2 separate regions of the Homo sapiens genome follow, and region 1 is linked to region 2. The links are contacts of gene promoters, found by promoter capture Hi-C in human tissues and cell types (Jung and others, 2019). All regions are on one chromosome and are shown on one strand. Each heading gives the region's core, a stretch centred on a gene start or on the middle of the fragment in contact. The rest is flanking DNA. Distances are from core to core; before and after follow the strand shown. Region 1 has its middle 55 kb from the start of TPD52L1. Region 2 holds the start of HINT3 (histidine triad nucleotide binding protein 3).

The links. Contacts are between HindIII fragments. The study calls those that stand out against the background at their distance.
Region 1: a contact is called between a fragment that was not itself captured here and the fragment with the promoter of HINT3 in region 2, in 1 of the 25 tissues and cell types used here (hippocampus).

The regions. Positions count from the first base shown.
Region 1 is chr6:125,095,292-125,102,389 of GRCh38, reverse strand. No RefSeq gene overlaps it. Among named protein-coding and RNA genes, the nearest start is that of TPD52L1, 55 kb to the left of the region's middle. The HindIII fragment of the contact is 8,655 bases long and covers 1-6,803 here.
Region 2 is chr6:125,952,051-125,958,979 of GRCh38, reverse strand. HINT3 (histidine triad nucleotide binding protein 3) reads right to left here and starts at 2,210. Exons shown (of 5, transcript NM_138571.5): 1 at 1,802-2,210. The coding sequence starts at 2,002. RefSeq lists enhancers at 988-1,037, 2,098-2,197 and a silencer at 1,708-1,927. The HindIII fragment of the contact is 11,405 bases long and covers 84-6,929 here.

The sequences.
Region 1 (7,098 bases), core at 1,227-3,726, 860 kb after region 2:
CCTTTCTTCCTTCTCCCTTTGTAGAGCACATATTAAGGGCCAGGACTTGTGCCCTGTTGGGGATAATTGTCCCTGCCTTGAAGGAACACAAAGACCTGAAGGAAACTGTGAAAAGTGCTGTAATAGGTTGAATGGTGTCTTCCCAAAAGTTAATGTCCTCTTGGAACCTCAGAATGTGACTTTATTTGAAATAGGGTGTTTGTGGATGTAATTGTAGTATTTAAGTGAAGGTCTGTATTCCTTTGTTAGGGCTGTCATAACAAGGTACCACAGACCTGGAGTGGGAGGGACTTAAACAATAGAAAGTTATTTTCTCACAGTTCTGGAGGCTAGAAGTCTAAGATCAAGGTGTAAACAGGGTTGATTTCCTCTGAGGCCTCTCTCCTTGGCTTGCAGTTGGCCATCTTTTCTTTATGTCTTCAGCATGAACTTTCCTCTGTGTATGCCTGTGTCCCAATCTCCTCTTATGAGGATGCCAGTCATATTGGGTTAGGGCCCACCCGTATGACCTCATTCTACCTTACTTAGTTCCCTGTGTCAAGATTCTATCTCCAAATACAGTCACAGCCTGAGGCTGTGGGGATTAGGACTTCAACATATGAATTTAGAGAGAACACATTTCTGCCCCAAAGATGACACTGGATAAGGTTGGGTCCTATATCCAATGACTGAAGTGAAGTGAAGATACAGCAAGTCAAAGAATGCCAAGGATTGCTGGCAACCACCAGAAGCGAGGAGAGAGACAAAAAACAGATTCTCCTTCAGAGCCTCCAGAAGGAAACAGTGCTGCTGACACTTTGATTTCAGACTTCAGGCCTCTCTATGAGAGAATTAAGTTTGTTGTTGTAACCCACCCAGTTTGTGGTATTTTGCTACTTCTACCCTAGAAAACTAATACAAGTGCCTTGCTCAGTGGTGATTTACAAAGAGTCCTTAACAGAGGGGGCCATGGTGATGCACCCTGGATGGTACAGGCAGGATGGCATCTAGCAGGAGAAAATGCTGGGGCTGAGGACGATGGAGAAGTAGGAGTTAGGAGGAGGAGGAGGAGGAGGAGGAGGAGGAGGAGGAGGAGGTAGAGACCCAGCCTATGGGAGTATGCAGATGCACAGCTGCTTGACAGGGCCTGTCTGGATTACAGAAATAATAGAACTGAACAGTTGGAACTAACTTTAAATATAGGTTACATGGACCCACATTTCATTGCTGAAAGAGATCTTAGAGACTACCCTTGCACTCCTTGATTTTAGACCAAAGTCTGGGAAGGTATGTGGCTATGCCAATATCACAGAGCAAATTAATGTAAGAATTCAAGATAGGAATCCATTTGTCCTAAATCTTTGCCTAGTACTCTCCACAAGACCAGGATTGGAGCCCAGCCTTCACCAAGATCCACATACAGGGTATGTCTAATAACACAGGAGGGGCCCTAAACATGCTTACTACTACTACTACTACTAATAAACTGAATAAGTAATGTTGAATAAACTTTCAATGAATTGAATGTCAGAAAGAAAATAACTGGTATTATGCTATGTACTTTCATATACACTGTCTCATTTGATGGGAACAAAAACTTCTATCTGTTGTGTTATTATTCCCCAATTTCCAATTACTCTTTTAGAGTTGCAGATGTCAAAGGACAGTTTGGGTACCCTGCCTCAGAGTCCCTGGTTAACAAGAGAAGGGCTCTGAGAAGCAGTCTAGCTTGATAGCTCAGGGCTCCCAGGCCCAGGTTTAGATCACACCTCTGTCCTTGCAGACTCTGTGATGGGGGAGGTTATTCAGTCTCTGTCAAGGCTAATAAATAATGCAACAACGGTGATTCTAATAGTTTAAAACGGATCAGGATACCCTGATGTAGTGGGAAAAAACTTGCCCTTGGTATTCAAATCAGATTGATGATGCAACTCTGTCCTGACTTCACTTTCCTCATCTCTGAAATGGGAATAATGTTTATCTCATAGGGTTGTGAGGATTTTCCAGGAAAATCGCACACAACCCCGCACGTTTCTACTTGTTAAAGGAACTCAGCCGAAATTCTTGCCAGCTTTCGTCCCGACCCCATCCCCAGGGCTCCTCCTGGTTCCTGGTGGGCCCTCTTTCCTAGTCTATTTTTTTTAACTTTCTCTTCGTTTTGTCTTTCCTTTCTCTCTCCCTTTCATCTCCTTCTCCCCCCGTTACTTTTCTTTTGGGTTACCTTTTTAATGAGATGTAGAAAATGTATCAGCAGGTTTATGAAAAGTGAACTGGCAGATGGAAGATGTCACCATGACACTGAGGAAAACTGTTTTCTAACCCCCACCAAAGTAATTTAATTTACACATTTACTTCCTCAAAAAAAGAAAAAAAAAAGCTTTTATGCTTTCAGCACGCAGGCAATGGAGACAGCCTCGGGTCGTGTTGCCCACACGCAGGTGCTGCTAGCTGCCTCCCAGTCGCTCTCCTCGCGCATCTTCCCAGGGGACATCCGCCCTCCCGGGACTGTGCTCCGGACAGCGGGGGAGGGCAGAGGGAGGGGCAGGGAGGTGACAAGCAGCGCCCCGCAGTGTGCACCGTGCGCTTCACTCCGCGCTCCTCTCCGTGCACCCAGACCCAGAGCAGCCCCGCCCGGCAGCCAGCACAACTGCCCCGCGCCACAGGCCGCCGGCCTCTGCTTGCCAGGGCTGCGGGGGAAGAACATGCCCCCGTGCACTAGCTCCGCGTTCCCGAAGGAAGGTTTTCGCAGCCATGGGCAGTGGGCCTTTAGTCTCCCGCTCCGTGCAGTGGGAAGGGATCAACTGAGCGGCGCGGAGCCATCAGTGGTCTCTGCGTGGAGGCTGCAGCCCCGCCGACGCCCTCGCCTTCGCCCTCGCCCCCGCCCCCGCCCCCGCCCTCTATACTGTGGACAAAGGCAATCCGGATTTGTTTTTGTTTTCGTGGTTTTCTTTGTTGATGATGGGAGCTGGAAACTGGGGAGGAGAGAATTTTGCAGTTGTGAAAGGGCATCTCTCTCTTCCCTTACTTATTATTTTCTTCAAAGATAACAGAATTTCCCCATGGCAGGAACCGCAGACTGGCAAGCAGGAGACCTGAGTTTGAGTTGAGCCTTTGCTATGTGACCTCAAACAAACCATTGAACTGTATTTTTTATTTTTTATTTTTTAGTTTAGCTGGGCTTAGCTTTGTTGTTTTCTTTCCCACATTGTTTATAAAACGAGGATACTAATAACACCACAGAGGGGTTGTAAGGATTACATACACGTGAACAGACTATGTGAACGCATAGTAGGCGCTAGATAAAGATTTGTTTTGAAATTATCCATAACAACACCTCCAATATAAGGAATAAGAGACCTAGGAAGCCCAGAGAGGGCAAGTTAGCATGCCAGTTGGAGGATGAAAACCAAGGCTGGAACTAAGGTTTCCCATTTCCAGCTTCGTGTTCTTCCCATTTCCCACTCTTCCGCTGATTCTAACCTAGTGCACTTACAACTCTGGAGAAGGGAGACCCAGTTGGAATCCCTGGCTTCACCATTCTGAAGTTGAGGCGTCTTGGGCACGTCTCTTATAAAACTTTTTTGTTTTATAGTTTTGTAATTTGTTCCTCAAACGTTTCAATGCCTATGATGTACCTGCCAGTTACCATAGACGGTGGAGGGGACCCAAAAATGAATAGAACATGATCCGTGACCTCATGGAATTCACGTTCTTGCTAGAGGGCCTCATGCATAATATAAGCAAAAATAAATAACCAATCTGTTGGTGATTATATTAATAGAGCATGGTGGAAGGAAGAGTTCTGTTTAATGTCGGGGGTTGGGGGGGATCCCAATGTCTCAACAGTGAGCAAGGACTGGAGAGGTTAACTTGGAACGTGCTATCCAGGTTTCACCTCCACCTCTCACCTTTCCCCACACCTCTCCTCCTGCCCCAAGCTACTCTGTCTCATCCCACCCACCCACTCCGGGGGCTGATTCGTTCACTGCCCAGCCTGAGAGTGTTGATGACTGACAGTTCTAAGCTGAACCCACTCTGGAGTGTTCTCAGCTGAAAGGGTCACCTCCTCCCAAAGTCATGCTTCCAAGGGCAGCTCCCATTCAATGACTGATCTATGCAGAGTGTTAAGGCTTACTCTCATTTCAATTTGGGACAACTCTCTGCAGAGCCTTCCCAGCTTCAGGCTGATAGGTTATGGCTGATGAGCTCAGGCCTGTGTGGGGACTTCATTGCAGTCTAGTTTCTCTCCCTGCCCAATCCTGTTTATTTCACTCCTTCATAGATGTGCAGTAAACCTTAGCAATAAGCCTCCTGCATGCAAATTTCCATCTAGGAATCTGCTTCTCAGAAAACCCCATCCTGAGACAGAAGTGATAAAATCAGATTGTGTTTTTGTAGCATCACCCTAATAGCACTGTGAAGGATGCAGTGGACAGTGCCTATGGCCAGTCACATCACAGGCATGGGCAAAACAGAGGGGAAGCCTGAAGGCAAGAATCCCAATGCTTGCCATTATCTGAATAAGAAGGACAATCTGAATTAAAGGGTGAAGGTGTGAATAGAGAGGTTATTTAGGAGATATAATGACAGATTGAGCTAGGTTGGGTGAAAGATAGCCAGACAGGTCGAACTCCAGGTTTTTGTCTTGGGCACCTCATATCCATGCCCCAAAGGCTGCAATTCTCACCCTTACATATCTGAAGGTCTGAATGCCGAAGTCCACTAAAATATTTTTGGCCAAGCGTAAAATAGCTGTGTAACTTTTTTTCTGGACCAACTTTTGAGAATTTTGAAAAAAATTGTGAGTTTGACTCTCACATAGAGATATGCCATTCTCTTTTGGGGATCCATGATAACATGGGCATCCTCCTATGGGTGCTCAATAGCTATTTATTGAATGAATACAGAGAAAAAGTAAACTATTACCAAGGAAGTGATTTGGTTTTCATTAGCAAAGATGGGGAGAAGTCCAGCTGTGTGAAGAAGAATAGGGCCATTATTCATTTTGGAGCTGTCCTTCTGGCCAGCTGATCTGTACCTTTTTCTTTTGTCCATTTGCTTCACTCTAGTCTCATTGCAGCAGCCGGAATGATCCTGTTGGGACCTAGGGATGGCCATAGCACCCTTCTGTCTACAAACTTCAGTGGACTTTTCGTCTCATTCAAACTGAATGCAAATGCACTACAGTTACCCACCTACATTTGCAGCAATGCCCCCACCTCTCTGTTTATACTCATCTCCTCTCCTTCTATTCCAGCTGCTCTGGAGTCTTGCCTTTCTGAGCCCTTGTCTCTGCTGTTTGCTTTGCCTAGAATGCCCTGTTAGCTCATCAGTACAGCTCTCTCACCTCTCATACTTTTGCTCAAACTTTACCTTCCCAGAAGCCCATGCCCTTTTACCCCCACTATCTATCACTTTCCCCTGCTTTATTTTTCTCCCTTTCACTTCTATAATTTACTTATTTTGCTTATTTGTCTGATTCCTATACTAGAACGTAACCTTCTTATGGCAGACATTTTTTTGTCTCTTCTTCACTAATCTATAACCATGACTTGTAACAGTGTCTGGCATGTAATAGGTACTCAAAAAATATTTGTTGCATGAATAAATGGCAACTGTGCCTCAGACAGTCAATCTCTTTAGGCCAGGAGACAGGGACAAGTTTCATGATCTGCTGCCACTATTTCCATGGTGTGGTACCAGTTTTGGGGCCCAGGCTTTAAGAAAATGGTAGCTTCTGCTGGGCGCAGTGGGTCATTCCTGTAATCCCAGCACTTTGTGAGGCTGAGGTGGGCAGATCACAAGGTCAGGAGATGGAGTCCATCCTGGCTAACATGGTGAAACCTCATCTCTACTAAAAACACAAAAAGAAAAAAAAAATTAGCCAGGTGTGGAGGTGGGCACCTGTAGTCCCAGCTACTCTGGAGGCTCAGGCAGGAGAATGGCGTGAACCCAGGAGGTGGAGCTTGCAGTGAGCCGAGATCCCACCACTGCACTCCAGCCTGGGCAACAGAGCGAGACTCCACCTCAAAAAAAAAAAAAAATGAAATAAAATAAATAAATAAAAATAAAAAAAAAAAAGAAAAGAAAATGGTAGCTTCAATTTCCAGTCTATTTGGGATGTTGCTGTCAGAATTCAGCCACCGTATTGGTAGAAGGCCAGAGAAGCTTGTTGTGAAAACTATGGGAAAAAGAACGCAGGCCGTAGCTCACATAAACAAATGCTTGGAAAAAACAGAGGAACAATGAGGTCTCTGGTATGATGGAGATTCCTGAGAATGCTGCCAAGATTGTTCCAGCTTCATCTCACTTTCTCTCTGTCAGCAGCTTCATTCTAAACTGAGGGGATCGAAAGTAGAGAAATGTATTGTCTCACAGTTCTACAGGCTAGAAGTCTGAAATCAAGATGTTGGCAGGGTCATGCTCTTTCTGACAGTTCTAGAGGAGAATCCTTCCCTGTCTCTTCCAGTTTCTGGTGTTTGTTGGCAATCTTTGTCATTCTTTGGCTTTAAGTGAATCACTTTAGTCACATGACCATCTGTTGTAGGTGGCAGAAACATAGCTTCTGGAAGCTTCCAAGCTCACATTTCACAGCTGCATCATTAAAAGGGGATAGGGACAGGCTTTTTATTGTCTCAAGTTCAAAAATCCTAGGGAGGGGATTAATTGGCTTAACTTGACTTGGGTGTCCCTCTGTGAACCAACTGGTTTCATTGATTGGGGGGAGCATGAGAAAAGGTGGCAACTCCCTAATGAACAACGTGGTTGGGTGAGTGAGACAGAATTACTCAGAGGACAAAACAATAGATGTCAGCTAACATATGATAATTGACTCTTTGAGCAAAACTTTATATTTAACCAATATGCTACTCTAGAAATGTGCATGTTAAGCATTACCCATTAAAATAATTTGCCTTTTAGAATGCTTCATATCACAGCCCTGACACAACGTCTAGGAGTGATGCTATTATTCTGCGCTACTTGTAACTGACATCAATGAATCATTTTGTGTTGGCCAACATGTTTAAAATGAAGCGTGGTCACTAACAATAATAAGAACTAACATTTACTGAAAGCTTGTTAAGAGCAAGGCACTATTTTAAGTGCTTAAGCATGTAT
Region 2 (6,929 bases), core at 961-3,460:
TTACCCTAGCCAGAAACCTGGAAATCATCTTTGACTTCACCCTCTTTCATTTCCTTATCCTCTTATATCTAAATCAGGGTTTCTAAACCTTGGCACTTCTGACATTTTGAGGGCTGGATAAGCCTGTTTTATGTGTGTGTGTTGATGGGGTGGTGGGGGTGCTGTCCTGTGCACTGTACCATGTTAATAGCAACCCTGGCTTTTATCCATTATTTAGGTCCCAGAAGCAACCCCTAGAAGTGCCAGAAGTTGTTACAATCAAAAGTATCTCAATACATTGCAAAATGTACCCTGGGAGGGCAAAATTGCCCCCAGTTGAGAATCACTGACCTGTATCCATCAAGTCCTCCCTGTTTTACCTCCTGAATACTGTATCCCTTAAATTGATATACTTTTCATAATCTCCTCTACCACATTCTCATTTCAGGCCATCATCAGGGTAGATTAATCTACTAGCCTTCTAACGGGTCTCCATACCTCCAGACTGGTCTCCTCCAAATCATTCTCCACAATGATGCCAGAATGACCTTTCAAAGATCAACCCCCTTCCTATAACTCCGCAACATCTTCCTCCCAACCCACCATTAAACATTGTGAAGTTTCACTTTGCTCTTCAGATAAAGACAAATTCCTTCACATGACTTCCAACACACTTAATAATCTGGTCCCTTGTTTACCTCTCCAGCCTCGCCTTTCATCCTCTCAAACTCTATGCACTAGTTAGACAATTTCTGTTAGTTTTTCTATCACACAAACTGAACCTCTCGGGGGGTCTCTCAACCTGGGACATTATTCTCTCCATTTCCTCATCTGATCAACTCCTACTTATTTCTTCATGTCTCATTTCCTCTGGAAAGCCTTCCCTAATTCTTCAGAGCTGGGTTAGATGCTCCTCCCACAAGCTTACAAAATACTGTAAAATCACCTGACCACAGCACGAGGCATTGTAACTGGCTACCTCCTCTGTATACATTCCGCCCTTTAGATTGTAAAATCGGGACACAGACTGTCCCTTATCTTGCTCAAAAACCTCCAAAACAAGGTGCTTAGAAGGAATTATATTTATTTTTTAAAAAATAAAGGAATGTTTACTACAAAAGACACAATCTTTGGAGCTAATTCTCTCAAAAAGTTGTTTCTATATGGACAAGTAAAACCAACAGAATAAAGTGTGTGCCAGATTATCCGTTTAAAAATATCTGGGCAAAGTCTTCATGCTCTGAAAATGTCCACGCATCCCAACTGACAGTGGAATTCAGAGGCAATTCAATAATAGTTTGACCTCAGACCCACTCCCTCCAGCCTATTTTCTGCCAATCTAACAAACAGCTTTCCACAATTATCATTACCTATTTTCTACTAGTTTTCTCATCAGTATCGGTATTAGAGTGTGCAGGATTTAAAATCAGTATCTTGAAGGTGGAGAAGAATCCTTGTAATAAAAGCAGAGGCCACAAAATGTTATTTGTACCAACTACCTGGGTACCTGCAAACATAGGCCAAAGCATTCGGCCCTGTCATTCACTCTTTGCCCCTGGGAACAGCAAAGATACCGCTGGAGCCACTGCCTGTCAGTCCCCTAGGAGTGAGTCTGTCATCAGCACCCGGACCCTGCAGAAAGGCCCGTAGTGGGCGTATCCCCAGCTTCCCCGAGCCCCATCCACACAGAGCGGCCCTGCCTCTGCGAGCTGAGTAGCGATCGGGATCCTCTGCACCCGCTCCACAACGGCGAGGCCTCCCTGCCGGAGCTCCGAGGGGCGGCCAGGTCCTCACCCACCCCCGGCCGCGCGTCGCCGCCCACCTCGCAGTGCAGGAGTTCGGTGCCCGGGTCCTGCCGCCCCGCGATCCGGCAGAACACGCAGGTGCTGTCGTAGTCCTTGGGCTCTGGTGACTTGCCAGCGGCTTCACAGGTCCCCACTGAGGAAACCGTAGTTTCTGCAGTCGCCGAGGCCTCACAGTCGGGGGCCAGGCCGGCGCTGCGGTTCACCTGTTCCTCCGCCATTGCACCCGCCCCTCGCGGCCTAGAGCCTCGGCCTCTCCAGGGCTACCGGGCCCGCGCAGTCTCCGCGTCCCGCACCTCCTCCGTTTTACCTCGAGACGTCGCCCCTCGCCTGACGCTGGGCGGTGATCCAGGCTTTGGGGAGAGGGAAGGAGACGCGGTGAGGAACTTCAAAGCCGGAGGCCGGCCTCAAAACCGGCTGCCACTAGAGGGCGCGCAATGGCGCTGCCGAGAGTCGTCCTGACCCCTGCGCCTCGTTGGTAATGACGCACGACGTCTGCCAAGTCGCAGAGCGCCCAGCGCGTCGTGGTGACATCACAGAGGCGCGGGAGCGTTTGACATAATGGAGCTTGTTGGGTGTTCTGGACAGGCGTTCTTCAAAGCCCATAGTATAGCGTGTCCAAATATTGTATTACGCTGCCGTTTTTTTAAAAAAAAAAACAAAAAGTTTTTTAAAGTTTGATTTTTAAAATTCGTAGGTTTTTAAAGAATGAGCAAAATTCCTAAAGCCTTGTTTTCAACAGACATCATGTTTGCTGCTTTTTCAGCCACGATAATTGTAGGAGTTTAAACTCAAAATGTCCAAAACTGACCTTTACATCTCTGTTGACTTTTTATTGTTGTTAACAGCACAGTTAGATCAAACTAGCGACCTTTTTTTTAATCTCACATTCCTCATATACAAGTAGATGTGGAGTCCTATAGTCAATACTCTGAAATATCCCAGAAATTCAATGCCAGTGCCTCATAATGCCTCACCTAGACCAACGCAATCACCTTCTAACTTACTTATTGATTTTCCTGTCACTCAGACAAAACCTTCTGTAACTATGTGCTCAAAGAAAAAGTACCAGTTCCTTAGCTTGGTGTTCAAGGTGGACTCTGATTTGACCTCAGCTTTTCGTTTTGTGATACTTCCCACTTGCTGAGCATCTAAAACATGCCATATATTTCTCTAATTGTCAAAAAACGCAAGGTTGGTTTTATAACCACCGCTCTAGAGATGAAGGACCAAACTCAGAGTTGCCCAGTCCCACACAACTAATTAATAGTGACAGAGTTTAAGATCAAGGTTTGTCTAACTCCAAAACCCACCAACCTTTTTGACATACAGCACTCCTTTTTTAACACCAAAAAATTTGTTGGACTAGCTCACTATAGTAGTTACACCCTTGGTATTTGCTGATTTAGAAAATACATAACAAATTGGGAATTCAGTAATGATTTTTAATGGATTTATGTTGTAATAAAAAGTGGTTGTATGTGTTTTGAATTGTTGTACATATACATTCAAGACATTTTTCATTCCTTTTTGTAGTTGGCCCGTAGTTTGGGGAACCACTACAATAGCTTCACTGCCTTTCAGCACCCCAAAGCAGAGTTCAGAATCAATACATTAGAGTTTTGCCAAATTTTAGTATTCACAATTTCCATGCCTGTACTACACCTTCACATCACTGCTTTTATTCACACAGTTCTCTCTCAAATATTCTTGTTTCCATCTCTTCACTCCAAATTCTACCTTCCAAGCCACCCCTCCAATGCTACCTCCTTCATGAAATTTTCTTTAGCCAAACTGACATAAGCACATCCTCTTGCAAATTCATATAACAGGTTTTCAATATTTCTCTTGTAGGATTTGTCTCTTTGTATCTTATAGCTATTTATGTACTTATTTATCCTGCTAGGAATTATGTTTCTTGGCAACAAGATTGGGTGTGTGAATCTTCCATAATGCCTAGTACAGTTGGAACAGGAATTAAAGAATATGTAAGCAAAAACTCAGTTGTATGTAAGAAAACCCAGTTCCCCCTGAGGAGGAGAAAGAGGTAGAGTCCTTTAAAAATTAACTGCCTGTTTTTCTATCTGTGGCTAGTGAGCCTTATCTCTCCCTTTCCCAGGCATTGTGAAGACCCTGTTTCTCTAGCTGTGCAGCTGCAAAGTCACTAGACAGATAAACTCAAGTCATAAAATATGTTTTTCCTTGAAAAGTAAGAAATTATGTAATGCATATCTCAATTAAATAACTGTCATTTTTCTTACTTCTGTAATATGCTTCCCCCTGCACAGATCTCCCCCCAACTGCCCCCTGCCCACGAAATGCTTAAAAGGTAACCTGACCCTTTGTTCGGGGCTCAGCGGATGTTAATCTGACTGTGCCGGTGCACCTAAATAATAAATCCTCCTCAACCCCTCGGTCTTTCTGATTCCTAAATAATCCTGCAACACAGTGCTTTGCATGGAGGTAGACATTTAACAATTTTCTAATGAAGAATGGTTAGGAGCAAGGTCACAGCATGAGAGTGTTCAGGTTTCACAGTGTGCAAGGATACTACAGATAAGAGTGTGCTGATTCATATCATACACATGTATTAACTTATGGAAAAGCACATACAGAACTGGAGATTCCAGGCTAAGTTCTGGAGCGGTGGAAAGCTGATTTGTATATAAACCCCCATTGGGTGCATATGGCCACACACATACAGTTAGGAGACCATTCACTTACACACTAGCACACACACCAGCATAAGTTGCATCTGTTCTGACTGCACTCCTAGTGACACCTGAGATTTCTTCTCTCACTTACCTGGGACTTTCCAAGGCTTGCTTCTCATTCCTCAGCTTTGAACTTGATAATTTTCCCACTTTGGAAGTGAGGGGAGCAACATGAAGTACTTGAAAATTGTGTAGACGATGTGTCCTGTGTGGAAGCAGGCAAAAATACAGGCACTTGTATGTACATAGGCAGGACTACTGCCAGTGGGTGTTCTGGATAACCCTCCTGGGGAACAGCCATTCCAGTTCCATAACAATATACTAACTTAAAATCTGCTTGTGAAATCAGGTGCTATTGGCTAACTTCACAGGGCTACCATATGGGCTAGCAGGAGCCCTGCTTCAGAGCAGGCTCTGGAGTCAGACTACTCTACAACTTACCATCTGCAAAAACTTGGGCTATGTTATTTTCCTTTCTCTGCTGAGACACAAATTATTTATCTTCCTGTGCGGAGGTTTTCTGTTCATTCATCTATAAAATGGGGATAATAATGATGCCTAATGCGTGATCATGTTGCATGTAGAGTTGTCACCGATGCTTCAGGTGGTGCTTCACCAGCTGGAAACCCCTGTGGCCAGCAGCCCCTCTGCTTGAGTTTTGCTCATGCCCACTGGGCTTGTTCCACCCACTCGGACCAGCAGGCTGCGCTCAGCTCACACAACCAGCCTTGGATCCCACACCTGCCAAAGGCAAGCCAGGTGCAGAGCAGCGAGGGGTGTGTGTGCAAGCACGCTGTTTGGCCACTGCACACAGCCAGGCATGCTGGCTGCTGCGGAGGGGCAGGCAGCTCCAGGCACCCGCACAGGTGCTGACTCTGTATGAGGTTGCGGCTGGACCAGACGTACCGCAAGCGGCTTCCACTGCGGGCACCAGCATCTGGATGAGGGAAATGTGGTGATGCTGGAAAGCTCAGAGATGCCAGGAACCACAAAGCCCCAAAGAGGGTGTTACAGTATGTCACAGCCCTGGCTCAGGGAGCTCCAAGATCTGGGCTCCAAGAAGGGCCACAGCTCTTCTCTCCTTCACATCTACTGCAGCGCAGCAAGTAGGGGTTCATGTTCGGGGTTGGGGAGTGTGTTTCAGCTGATTTGTGTAAAGACTCTTTCAGTCCCATTGCCCTGCTCTGGCCCATGACTCCTGGGCTGGCCCTGCCCCTCCACTGCTTCTTGTTGCATGGGGTGGCCACCTGGCACCAGCAGAGGGCAGGAAGGCTACAGTGTTACAGCTCTGGCACAGGGATTCCCAAGGTCTGGGCCCCCAGAAGGGTTGTTACGTTTCACTCCTGCAGCCAGTACCATGCCACCGCCTGCAGCTCAGCAAGCTGGCCAGGAAAGTGTTATAGCCCCTTTTAGCTCCCACCCGCAGCTCAATGAACTGGCCAGGAAAGTGTTACAGCTCCTTTTGCTCCTGCCATTTGTCAGGTCCCAGGTTCTTGTCCCACATCCAGGAAGAATGAGGTTAGGTGGACAACTGGAGGGTGAGCAAGGTGGAGAAGAGCTTTACTGGGCAACTGAACAGCTCTCAGCAGGGAGATCTGTAGTGGGTAGCCTTCACTCCAGGCCATGGATTTCACCCGGAGCTGGAAGCCCAGGCCCAGCTGGCTTGTCACTGGCTTGAAGTTGAGGTTTCACCCGGGACCTGCCCCTTCCCACCTAGGAACCTGTCTGCCTCCTGCCACCATCAGAATGACACATCAAATTACTTGTTTGAAAGTAATTTAGGATATGGATATAAATCTTATTGTTATCAGTAACACACTCTAAGAACCAGCTTTGAACATTGCTTTTCCCATCACTCATGGATCTATTTTTCTGCTCCTCTTTGCAACAAAACTCCTCAAAAAAGGTATCTGTTTGCTTCCCAATCTGTCTTCTTTTCTCTCTCACACTGCCTCCTGTCAGACTTTTAGTGCCACCAATTGGTCCAAACTACTGTTATCATCAGTAACTATATTACTAAATCTAATGGTCACTTCTCAGTCCTCATCTTTTCAGCAACAGTTGGTCATTCCCTCTCCCTTGACAAACTTTTCCCCTCTTGATTTCCTGGACACCATACTTTTTTTTTGTTTGCTTTCCTCCTACTTCACTGGCTGTTTCTTCTCAGATTCCTGTGCTACTTCCTCTTCTTCCAAACCTCTCTCATCATTTAAGGGCTTTGGTCCTAGGTTCTCTTCTCTTTAGCTGCACTCACTTTCTTGGTCGTCTCATGCAATCCGTGGCTTTAAATACCATATATTTGCCAATAACTCCAAAATTTAAATCTGTAATATAGACCTCTCCCCTGAACTTCAGACTCAAATATCCAACTGCCTACTAAACCACCCCATACCCATGTTTAATAAATGTTATAAATTAGCCTGAATGAGCTACT